Regions from separate parts of the Homo sapiens genome. Here region 2 is linked to region 1. Evidence: promoter capture Hi-C in human tissues and cell types (Jung and others, 2019). All regions are on one chromosome and are shown on one strand. Each heading gives the region's core, a stretch centred on a gene start or on the middle of the fragment in contact. The rest is flanking DNA. Distances are from core to core; before and after follow the strand shown. Region 1 holds the start of ANKAR (ankyrin and armadillo repeat containing). Region 2 has its middle 120 kb from the start of MSTN.

What was found. Contacts are between HindIII fragments. The study calls those that stand out against the background at their distance.
Region 2: a contact is called between a fragment that was not itself captured here and the fragment with the promoter of ANKAR in region 1, in 1 of the 25 tissues and cell types used here (IMR-90 fibroblasts).

Annotation. Positions count from the first base shown.
Region 1 is chr2:189,671,709-189,676,727 of GRCh38, reverse strand. It overlaps ANKAR (ankyrin and armadillo repeat containing), which reads right to left and starts at 2,058. Exons shown (of 23, transcript NM_001378068.1): 1 at 1,898-2,058; 2 at 1-272. The coding sequence starts at 237. It overlaps LOC105373793 (a long non-coding RNA gene), which reads left to right and starts at 2,443. Exons shown (of 2, transcript XR_923692.3): 1 at 2,443-2,897; 2 at 3,335-3,608. RefSeq lists an enhancer at 1,673-1,932 and a silencer at 1,983-2,402. The HindIII fragment of the contact is 7,879 bases long and covers 510-5,019 here.
Region 2 is chr2:189,944,955-189,949,973 of GRCh38, reverse strand. It overlaps a transcript of AKAP19 not described here. Among named protein-coding and RNA genes, the nearest start is that of MSTN, 120 kb to the left of the region's middle. The HindIII fragment of the contact is 4,576 bases long and covers 389-4,964 here.

The sequences.
Region 1 (5,019 bases), core at 809-3,308:
GCCTACGTTATTCATTTGACTCATAATTCCACATGGGAGGTCTACTTGAGAGCGCACATCCTCTTTGGCAGACAACCAGCTAACTAGTGCAGTAGTTAGTAACTCTTGTATTTCACTCCGATCATATTTTTCAAAAAAAGCAGATGCATTTCTTTGTATTGCTAAATTTTCCAGGTAGGTGTCTTCATCCTGAACTTGCTCAAATCTAGGTAATCCTTTTTTGGGCAATCTTAACATTTCTAATTAAATCTAGTGTGTCCTTTTTGAAGCTTCTGCAATGAATAAGAAGGAAAAGATTATCAATAAAATCTGACATGCCAATGAAACTGGATTTGTCTAGAAATAAATCTGTACCTTTCACCTACATAAGATTAATTTTTCATGGTCAACCATTATAGTTTTCAAATTAAAAATAACTGCAGTATATGAAAACTGAAATTTGAATTAAAATAATTAAAATTATAAAACCTTTATCATTAACCATGTTCTGCTTTTCAAAGAATTCAAAAGACAAGAAGATGTATGTCAAAAAGAAACGTTAAGTTTATCTGTGAGAAGCTACTGTTACATACCTATTTTGTTGTTGGAGAGGCATTCTTTTGTATATGTTCGTGTTAGTCTGTTTGTGTTGCTATAAAGGAATACCTGAGACTGCATAATTTATAAAGAAAAGAGGTTTATTTGGCTCACAATTCTGCAGGCTGTACAAGCATGGCACCAGCATCTGCTCAGCTTCTTGTGAGACCAAGCTTACAATCATGGCGGAAGGGGAAGGGGAGCCAGTGTGTCACATGGTAAGAGACGGAACAATAGAGAGAAAGGGGAGGTGTCTACTCTTAAACAACCAGATCTTTCATGAGCTCAGAGGTAGAGTTCACTCTGCCAGGAAAGCACCAAGCCATTCATGAGGGATCCACCCCCATAATCCAAACACCTCGCACCAAGCCCTACCTCCAACATTGGGGAATCTATTTTAACATGAGATTTGGAGGGGATAAATATCCAAATCATATGGATATTTATTTTGTTTTCAGTTTTTTAAAGCAAGACTATACTGACCTGCATGAAAGAAAAGAAAAGGGTGGGGCGCAGTGGCTCATGCGTGTAATCCCAGCACTTTGGGAGGCCAAGTCGGGCAGATCAACTGATGTCAGGAGTTCGAGAACAGCCTGACAAACATGGAGAAACTCCGTCTCTACTAAAAATACAAAATTAGCCAAACGTGGTCGTACATGCCTGTAATCTCAGCTACTCGCGGGGCTTGAGACAGGAGGCTGAACCCAGGAGGCGGAGGTTGCGGTGGCCTGGGCAACAAGTGTGAAAAACACTGTTTCAAAAAAAGAAAAAAAAAAGAAAAAGAAAAGGAAAGAAGCATTTGCTTAACCTTCAATTTCTGTGCCAATGAATGCCTGTCTATTCCTGAAATAATAATAACCACAACTACTATTTATTGAGCCAGGTTCTTTACTATATAATGGTTTGATTTATTTCATCTGATTGGTCTCTATTATATAGTGGTTCTCAAAATTTAGCTTGTATCAAAATCACCTGGGGCTTGTTCAAATACAAATCGCTGAATCCCACCACTGAGTTTCTGATTCAATGAGCTGTAGTGGGGCCAGAAAATATGCGTTTTAGTAAAGTTACAGGAAATGCTGATAGTGCTGGTTTGGGCGCCACACCTGAGACCCCAGGTCAGTGAGTCAGACCTTGTTATGCCCACTTTATAGAGGCAAAAACGGAGACCAGGAGGTTGCAGGACAAGTCTGAGGTTTTACGCCTTTCAGAAACAGAACCCACGTCTGTCCAGTCAAGCCCGGGACCCACGTCCAAAAGCAGCTCGCGTCAGCCATGGGCACGGGAAAGGGGAAAAAACAAGGAAAGGGGAGGAACCTACTCTAGAATGGCTGTTTTCTTGTCCGGGAGAGGGACGCTGCGTCCGCGGCGTTCCCGTGGGGCTGAGAACAGTCGTCGCCGCCTCAGATGGCTTCTCGCGGGGCCTTGAATCCGCCCTCAGGGCCTCCGCAAGGGCGAGCGGGAGGCGCACCGGAAGGAACTGAGAGGAACTTTCAGGGCTTTTCGCCCCACCGTGGCGGCCCGGCCCTCCTCGCCTCGCCGGCCAACACTGCCGCCGCCCGGGCGCGGGTCGAAGCGGTTGGTCCTCCGGGCCCTGGGGTGGCTGGGCTGCTCCTCGGGCGGAGCCTGCGGGCGACTAGGCCTGGTGCGTCCCGCAGCAGCCGCAGCGCCCCCAGGCGGCGCCCGGCCCCTTGGCTGGCTCAGACCCCCCGCGTGCGCATCATCCCAAGCCCGCTTAGCGCTTAGTCCAGCGGCATGCCGTGGGCACTGTGCCGCCCTCACTATCTGCCTCTGCTAAAACACCGAAACAGAGTAGCAGAGGAGACAGCGCCGGGCGTTGAGGCAGTCCCGAGTTGGAATACCACCTCCATCATCATTCTTTCATTCAACAAGCATTTATGGAACACCTATTATGAGTCAGGCACCCAGCTACAAGCTGGAAACCCTAGAAAACAGGGCAGACACGAAACCCCAAGGAGCTTACAGTTGAACAGATCATCTCACAGCTATATTTAACAGTGTGCCAATATTAGATGGAATGACAGCACTCGAATGAAAGCTAACCTAGCCCAGGGCTAGGAAAGGCTGCCTAAGGAAGTGCCCTTTTCCCCTCCGAGCCTAGAAGATGGAAAAGAGCTACCCAAGCAAAGGACTGGACAAGTAGCTTTTCAGGAACAGGGAACAGCAGGAGAGAAAGAATTGAAGTGAGAACAAAGTTGAAATGGTTGAGAAACCGCAAAACCCTGCTTAGAGAACAAGAGAGATGTGGGCACAAACCGAGCTGCTGAGGTGCGCGATGGACAGATCATGCAGGCTGCTGAGTAATGATTTTGAATTTCATCCCAAAGGATTAGCCTACAGTAGTGGCAGTGGAGGTGGGGCTCAGGGACTGTGGACAGATTTGAAAAATAATGAGGTTGCCTGTTGGTGACAGATTGGGGATATGTTGAAAAAGAAGGTTGTGTCCAAGTCAGAACCACATTTCTGTCAGGAGCAACAGGATATCAGGGCAAGATTAAGAGTTCAGTTATGTACTAATTGACCTTGAAGTACCTGTGAGAGAAATTGAGATGTGAGATATGCTTTAGATAAACAGTTCTGGGCTAAGAATGGCAGTAGGGGTTAGATGTATAAATTTTGGCAGATTTATAGTAATTGAAGCCAGGAGTGGGGTTGAAATCACCAAGGGAGAGCGTGCAGAATGAGGAGTTGAGAACCAAGGATTAGAGACCTGAGAAATTTAACATTTAAACGTCAGGTAGAGAGAGTGAAGTCAGCAAAGAAGACAAAAAGAACAGCCAAGAAGGCAGGAGGAAAACCAAAATTGGTCACAGAAGCCAAAGAAGTGTGTGGAAAAAAAAAAAGGAATGGCCAACTTTATCGGATGCTGCTGCTCGGTCAGGGGAGATGAGAACAAACTTCCACTGAATGCAGCAGCTTGGAAGTTCTTGGTGACTGTTTGGGGCAGAATTTCTCTTCCAGTAACCATGTCATTATTTTAGCTACTATGGAAATAAATATTAATAAATTTATGAGGACTATTCCAGGGCTTTTTTTTTTACAAAGATTTGCATGTTTGCACTTAAGAAATATGAACCATATATGTACATTCTCCTACTTCAAGGATTGTTTCCCCCTGGGTAGCCAAATGGTTTGTTCCATGTGTCTCAAATCTTCGGAAAGAGATGCCTCATTTTTTAAAGGATCAACACAGAACTCCATCCCAGAGCTAATGGGATTGAATAGCAGAAGGTTGTAAATGCCCAGGCCCTCTTGGGGTTCACACACATGCATGTGTATCCTCTCTCTGTCTCTCTCAGTATTCTGGTGGAGCAGATGACCTGGAAATTCCTTATAAAAGTTTGACTGATTAATACATTTAAATCTCATAGAGTAGAGTAGCACCTGGAATATAGCATTATGTAAGTTATAGCTATTTTCAGTATTAAACTGTATTGGTGTTATAATATTCAATTCTAGGCCGTGGGGCAAACCTCTTAAGTTCATCTACTCCCAATATAAGCAATGTCAATTTAGTGCTCAGGCCCACACAGACACTTGAAGTTGTCTGCTTTCAGATTGAGGGATGAAAGCTATGTAGGCAGTATCTAAATTTTGGTTGAACATTGCATCTTCCAGGGAATAAATTCGGGGCATGTGAAAGCCTTTGCCAGGTTACTGACCTGTTTGTCCGGATCCTAAAATTTATTTGCTACTGTGATTAAAGAATCAAAGGGTGGCCAGATCCAGAAATGGTGTCGATCCTAATGGACAGATTTCACAGTGACACTGGTATGGCAGTTAACAGTTGAGTAATGTGGGTGGATGTCAGGTTGGAGTAAATAGACAAAAAGGTGGAGAGAGTGACTGTGGATGAGAGGCAAGACATAGTAAGTAGAGGAAGACGTAATTATTCTTGTCTTCAGGTTGAGTAGGCTGAGGAGGAGAAGGGGCTGTCTCGGGGTGGCAGAGGCAGAAAATCCACATATAAGTGGAACTGCACAGTTCAAATGTGTTGTTCAGGGGTCAACTGTAGTCTTTAAAAGTTACTGGGGTGGGAAAATGAGCTGCCTAAAAAGATGTAATAGAAGTAACAAGTACTGTTCAGGAGGATGAACCTCAAGCAAATTGTTTAGCTTCTTTAAACCTGTAGTTCTTTTATCCATGAAACAGGACCCTGTCTAAACCATGGTCCCTGAAGAGAGGGAACTGAATCATTTCTGGATGGAGTGATCAAAGAGAGTGAGTCTGGGAAAACAAACTGTTTCTCTTCACTCTCACACAACACTTCTGACACCAGATGTGTGGATTTTTTCCACCAGATGTGTGGAGAATTACCAAGCAATTCTCCAGCTCTCTGAATACCAGCTGGGTATCCTACAGTTTAATCCTGCCTCTATCTACCTGGAGTGAGTGTCAGATCCTTCCATTTAAGGGCTCAGT
Region 2 (5,019 bases), core at 1,427-3,926, 270 kb before region 1:
ACCTTGGAAGAGTTACATTTCAGGACACTTAAAAGTAGGTAACAGGCCAGGCGTGGTGGCTCACGTCTGTAATCCCAGCACTTTGGGAGGTCGAGGCAGGTAGATCACGAGGTCAAGAGATTGACACCATCCTGGACAACATGGTGAAACCCCATCTCTACTAAAAGTACAAAAATTGGTTGGGCATGGTGGCATGCACCTGTAGTCCCAGCTACTCGTGAGGCTGAGGCAGGAGAATCACTTTAACCCGGGAGGCGGAGGTTGCAGTGAGCCGAGATTGTGCCACTGCACTCCAGCCTGGTGAGAGTGAGACTCATCTCTAAAAAAAAAAAAAAAAAAAAAGAAAGAAAAAGTAGGTAACAACTATTGGGTTTACCTATGCATACATAATTGACCCTTGAATAACACAGATTTGAACTGTGTAGATCCACTTATATCTGGATTTCTTTTTTCCTTTTTTTTTTTCTTTTTTTGAGACAGAGACTCTGTCACCCAGGCTGGAGTGCAGTAGCCTGATCCCAGCTCACTGTAACCTCAGCCTCCTGAGTAGCTTGGATTACAGGTGCCCGCCACTGTGCCTGGCTAATAGAGATGAGGTTTCACCATCTTGGTCAGGCTAGTTTTGAACTCCTGACCTCGTGATCCACTCGCCTTGGCCTCCCAAAGTGCTGGGATTACAGGTGTGAGCCATCGCGCCCGGCTTTTTTTCTCAATAAAAACAGTCAGCACTCCACATCTACGGGTTCTGCATCTGCAACTGAAGGCAGATGGAAAATGAGGTATTTGTCTGATGTGAAACCCGCAGATACTGAGGGCCGGCTTTTTGTATACTTGGTTTTCACAGGATTGTGGGACTTGAGTATGCAAAGATTTTGCTGTCTGCTGGGAGGTGGGGGATGCCCTGGAACCAATCCTCATTGTGAATACTGAGGGACAACTGTATTTTCCTACTTCCTAGATTAGGCCTTCAAAGTACTTTAAGCGTTTAGCAAAGGATTAAGAGTTAAATGTAAAATAAAACCACATAAGAACTAGAAAAACAAAACAAAAATCACAAAAGAACTTAAAAAAAAAAGTTTAAATACCTACATAATCTTGAGGTGAAAGGTCTTTCTAAGCTGAATACCAAAACATATAAATAAGAAAAAAAAATGATTTTACTAAATAAAAATTGAAAATTTGTATGACAGGAAAAAAGTACCACAAATAAGTGTCACAGGACTTTGTTATGTATACGCTATATATATGTTGACATGTTATGTATGTCTGACATAAAAGAACACTTAAAAATAAGCTAAAAAATTAAGACCCTAATAGAAAAAGTCATAAGGCAATTGATAAAGTGGCGCTATAAGTTTAATGTAGTAACATAGACAGACATGGTCCTACCATGTTTATGGGGGTGGATGTACATACATTGTTAAAAAATAGAGCCTAGAAGAGACAGACTGAAATGTTCACAGTGGGTAATGCAGGGGAGCAAAACTGTGGGTAATTTTTATTTTGTTCTCCAAATTGCCTGAAGTTTTTCAGGGAGGTACACGTTACTGTACTAAGGAAAAAACTATTTTTTAAAAAGCTAAGTGTAAAAATTAAATGCAAAAAAAACAGGCATATGTCCTCTAAGCTAAACAGAGACAAAGAAAATTATTCTTCTCATCTGAATCTCATTTTCAGAATCTGTAACAAGGCTTGGTAAAAATGATTTTTAATATTTGTGAATTAATTTTTTGACCCTCTAAGAAGTTAAAATGAATTAATTTCTTTCTTATTAACTTTCAGAATACCATTTGCTAGTACATGAAGAATGCTATACATTTTTAATTCTCCCAACATATAGAAATTAAGTCAACATTAATAAAGTAATTAGTACACTGCCTACAATGTACTTACCGCTGTGATAAGTCTCACAGGAGGTAAACAAATGTACTTATTATACGTTAAATATTTCATGATTCAAATTTTCCACCAAGTTAGACTGGCATAGCCCAACACTGATGATGAATTTGGTAAAGCTGTTTGTCAAGAATCTTAGTAACATAAACCTATTGCTTCAAATTTCCATGTAACAAAAAGATAATATTATTGGTCTGCCATCAACAAAGTATGTGCTTTTGAATAATAGGTTTATTCTTCACATAGATTTGAAAACTCTGGTTAGAATCGGAAATCACTAAAAGTCAGCTAGAGTGGTTAGAATTAGAAATCACCAAGAGTAATCTATATGGGTTACAGATTTAACCCATATAAGGTTAATCCATACATAATCCATATAGGGTTAAATATATTATTATCACTTAATAATGATGATGATATACAACTTTTTTTGAGTGTTTATGTTCCATGTACCATGCTAAATAATTATTATCATCATTTAATTGCCGAGGAAATTTAAGCTTAGAGATTATGCAGCTAGCCCAAGATCACATCCAGTATTGGGATTCAAACCTGCATCTTTCTGGTGACAAAGTGTCATTATTGCCTTTTCATTAAATATTTTATAAATTTAGTTACTAGTGCTAGAATAAATGGAAATAATTTAAGCACTAGTGAAATAGTTTAAAATTGTATACTTATAAAAATGATTTGACTACCTAATAATCCATGTATGAAAACTATTCAGTGCCAACGATGTGAAAAAATATAAAATAGCCATATATCAAGCCAAAGAAATGGGTGGGTTATTTCCATTCTTTTATGTGCAAATGGAATAGGATGGAAATTAAGAGAGCAAACTGATCTTCTTTCTGTTACTAGTTCTTCATATGGGCTAAAACGAAAACCCAATTGTTGGGTCTAATAGTGCACTGTTAAATTTGCTAACTTTTAGGAATAAAAGAAAAATTTATCAGTGCTAGGCACTTTTGTGTTTGCTCACTTAATCCTTAATGAACAATTTCATAAGACAGATATTTTCACTCCATTTTGAAAAAAGAAAGAAATGAAACTGAGGCTTAGAAAGTTTGAACAACTTATATATGGCCGATAAGTGACAAAGCTGAGATTTGAATCTAGGTCTAAATGATCCCAAAGCTGCACTAAGCATAGGCTAATGTCAGTGTAGGAAAGCACAATTTGAAAATAATGAGCTAAATTTTAAAATAATTTTTATGTGTACTGATCACTGATTACTACTCTTATGTAACTATATATCAGGGAAAGCTAGCTTTCTGGTATGAAATGCAAAACCAAAGAATAAAAGCATTTGAAAAAGTATAAAAACATTTGTTTTAAAATCTTTATTTGAAGATTTAAGAAAGAAATATATTCCTATGACACATGTACCTATTTACTGTGACTAAAAATCTAGTAATCTAAGAGATAACTTCAGATAATTTCAGAATTTGGGGACTAAAAATGTTTTAATGGCTAAAAGGAGAAACAGGAAGTTCAAGTGTCTAAAAATCATATTATTTTTCTTTTTTTGGTACTACAATGTTCCAATGCTACTTTCAGGTCGTTAAACTCTTAAATATACTTGTTTTTAAAACTAGGGTCATAGGAAAGCACTAAACTTTAAGAAAAAAATTTCTAGAGGCAGGGCCTATGTTGCTCAGGCTCATATTGAACTTCTGGCCTCAAGTAATCCTCCCACCTCAGCCACCCAAGCCATTGGGATTATAGGCATGAGCCTGCTCCCAGCTTTAAACTTCTATCTTTGAAGTTTCATAGTACCTAAGAGATAGATTCATATAAGATCAGAAACAAAAGTATCTTTTAACGCTGTATTTATGCTATTTTACGCTATATATTATAATCCCCTAATCCTTTAGGGTTCTAATTCATACAATCAAGGATTCTGAAGTTAAGACCACCTAGTCTAATAACTTCACTTTTATAAAGGAAGAAATTTATAAAGTATCCTGGGAAGTTTGAGTAATTTCTCCATGATAGTTTTGTGAATTTGTGCTGGAGTGGAGACTGAACCCTAGCTTCCTTGATATAAAGTCCAAAACTTGTTACATTATACCATCATACTTTCTTCATTTATCTCCATTTTTGAAAGTGTCAAGTAGCAACTATAGTATGTTTAAACCCTGAGTTCTCAAGCAAACAGTTCAGAAGTCCCCACTCTTCTACTGGAGAAATTAGTCCAGACATATATGTAGAGCAATGACTACTTAATATTAACTTAAATGTACACTGGCCAGGTAGGTATAACTTCAGAATAAATAGTCTCCTGATGAAAGAGGTGCAGATTATTAGTTGCCATAACTATAACATAACATAAAGGACCCCTGGAAGTACTTAAAACAATGATAATAACATATTTGAATGCCAATCTATAATTTACAATGTAATTTCACATATTTTCTTCACTCATGGTCTCAATCAAGCTTTTAAAAAATTCATTCTATTGAGGTATAATTTTAAAACAAGAAACTAAAGTACATCCATTTAAAGCAAATAGTTTGAAGAGTTTTTTAGTCTTTGGCTTTATAATCAGTTTTTGTGAATAGGAATTCAGGAATGACTTAGTTGGGTGACTCTGGCTTCAAGTTTCTTATGAAGTTGTAATTAAGCTGTCAGCCAGGGTCTAAAGTCATCTGAAGGCTTGAATGAGGCAGTGGGGTTTGCATCTAAGATGGCTCACTCACCTGGCTCTTGGCAGAAGGCACCAATTCTCTGCTGGCTATTGGCCTTTAGTTTCTAGCCACATAGACCTCTCCATAAGGCTGCTTCTGAACTGTTTTGTTTTGTTTTGGTCTCAGTTACATTTATTTCTGCTCTGATCTCTATTATTTCTTTCTTTCTACTAGTTCTGAGTTTAGTTTGTTCTTGCTTTTCTAGTTCCATGAGGTGCATTGTTGGTTTGTTGATTTGAAGTCTTTCTACATTTTTGATATAGGATCTTATTGTTATAAACTTCCCTCTTAGTACTACTTTTGCCGTATCCCATAGATTTTGGTATGTTATGTTTCCATTTTCATTTATTTCAAGAAATTTTTTAATTTCCTTAATTTCTTCATTGACCATTTGGTCATTTAGGAGCATATTGTTTAATTTCCATGTGTTTTC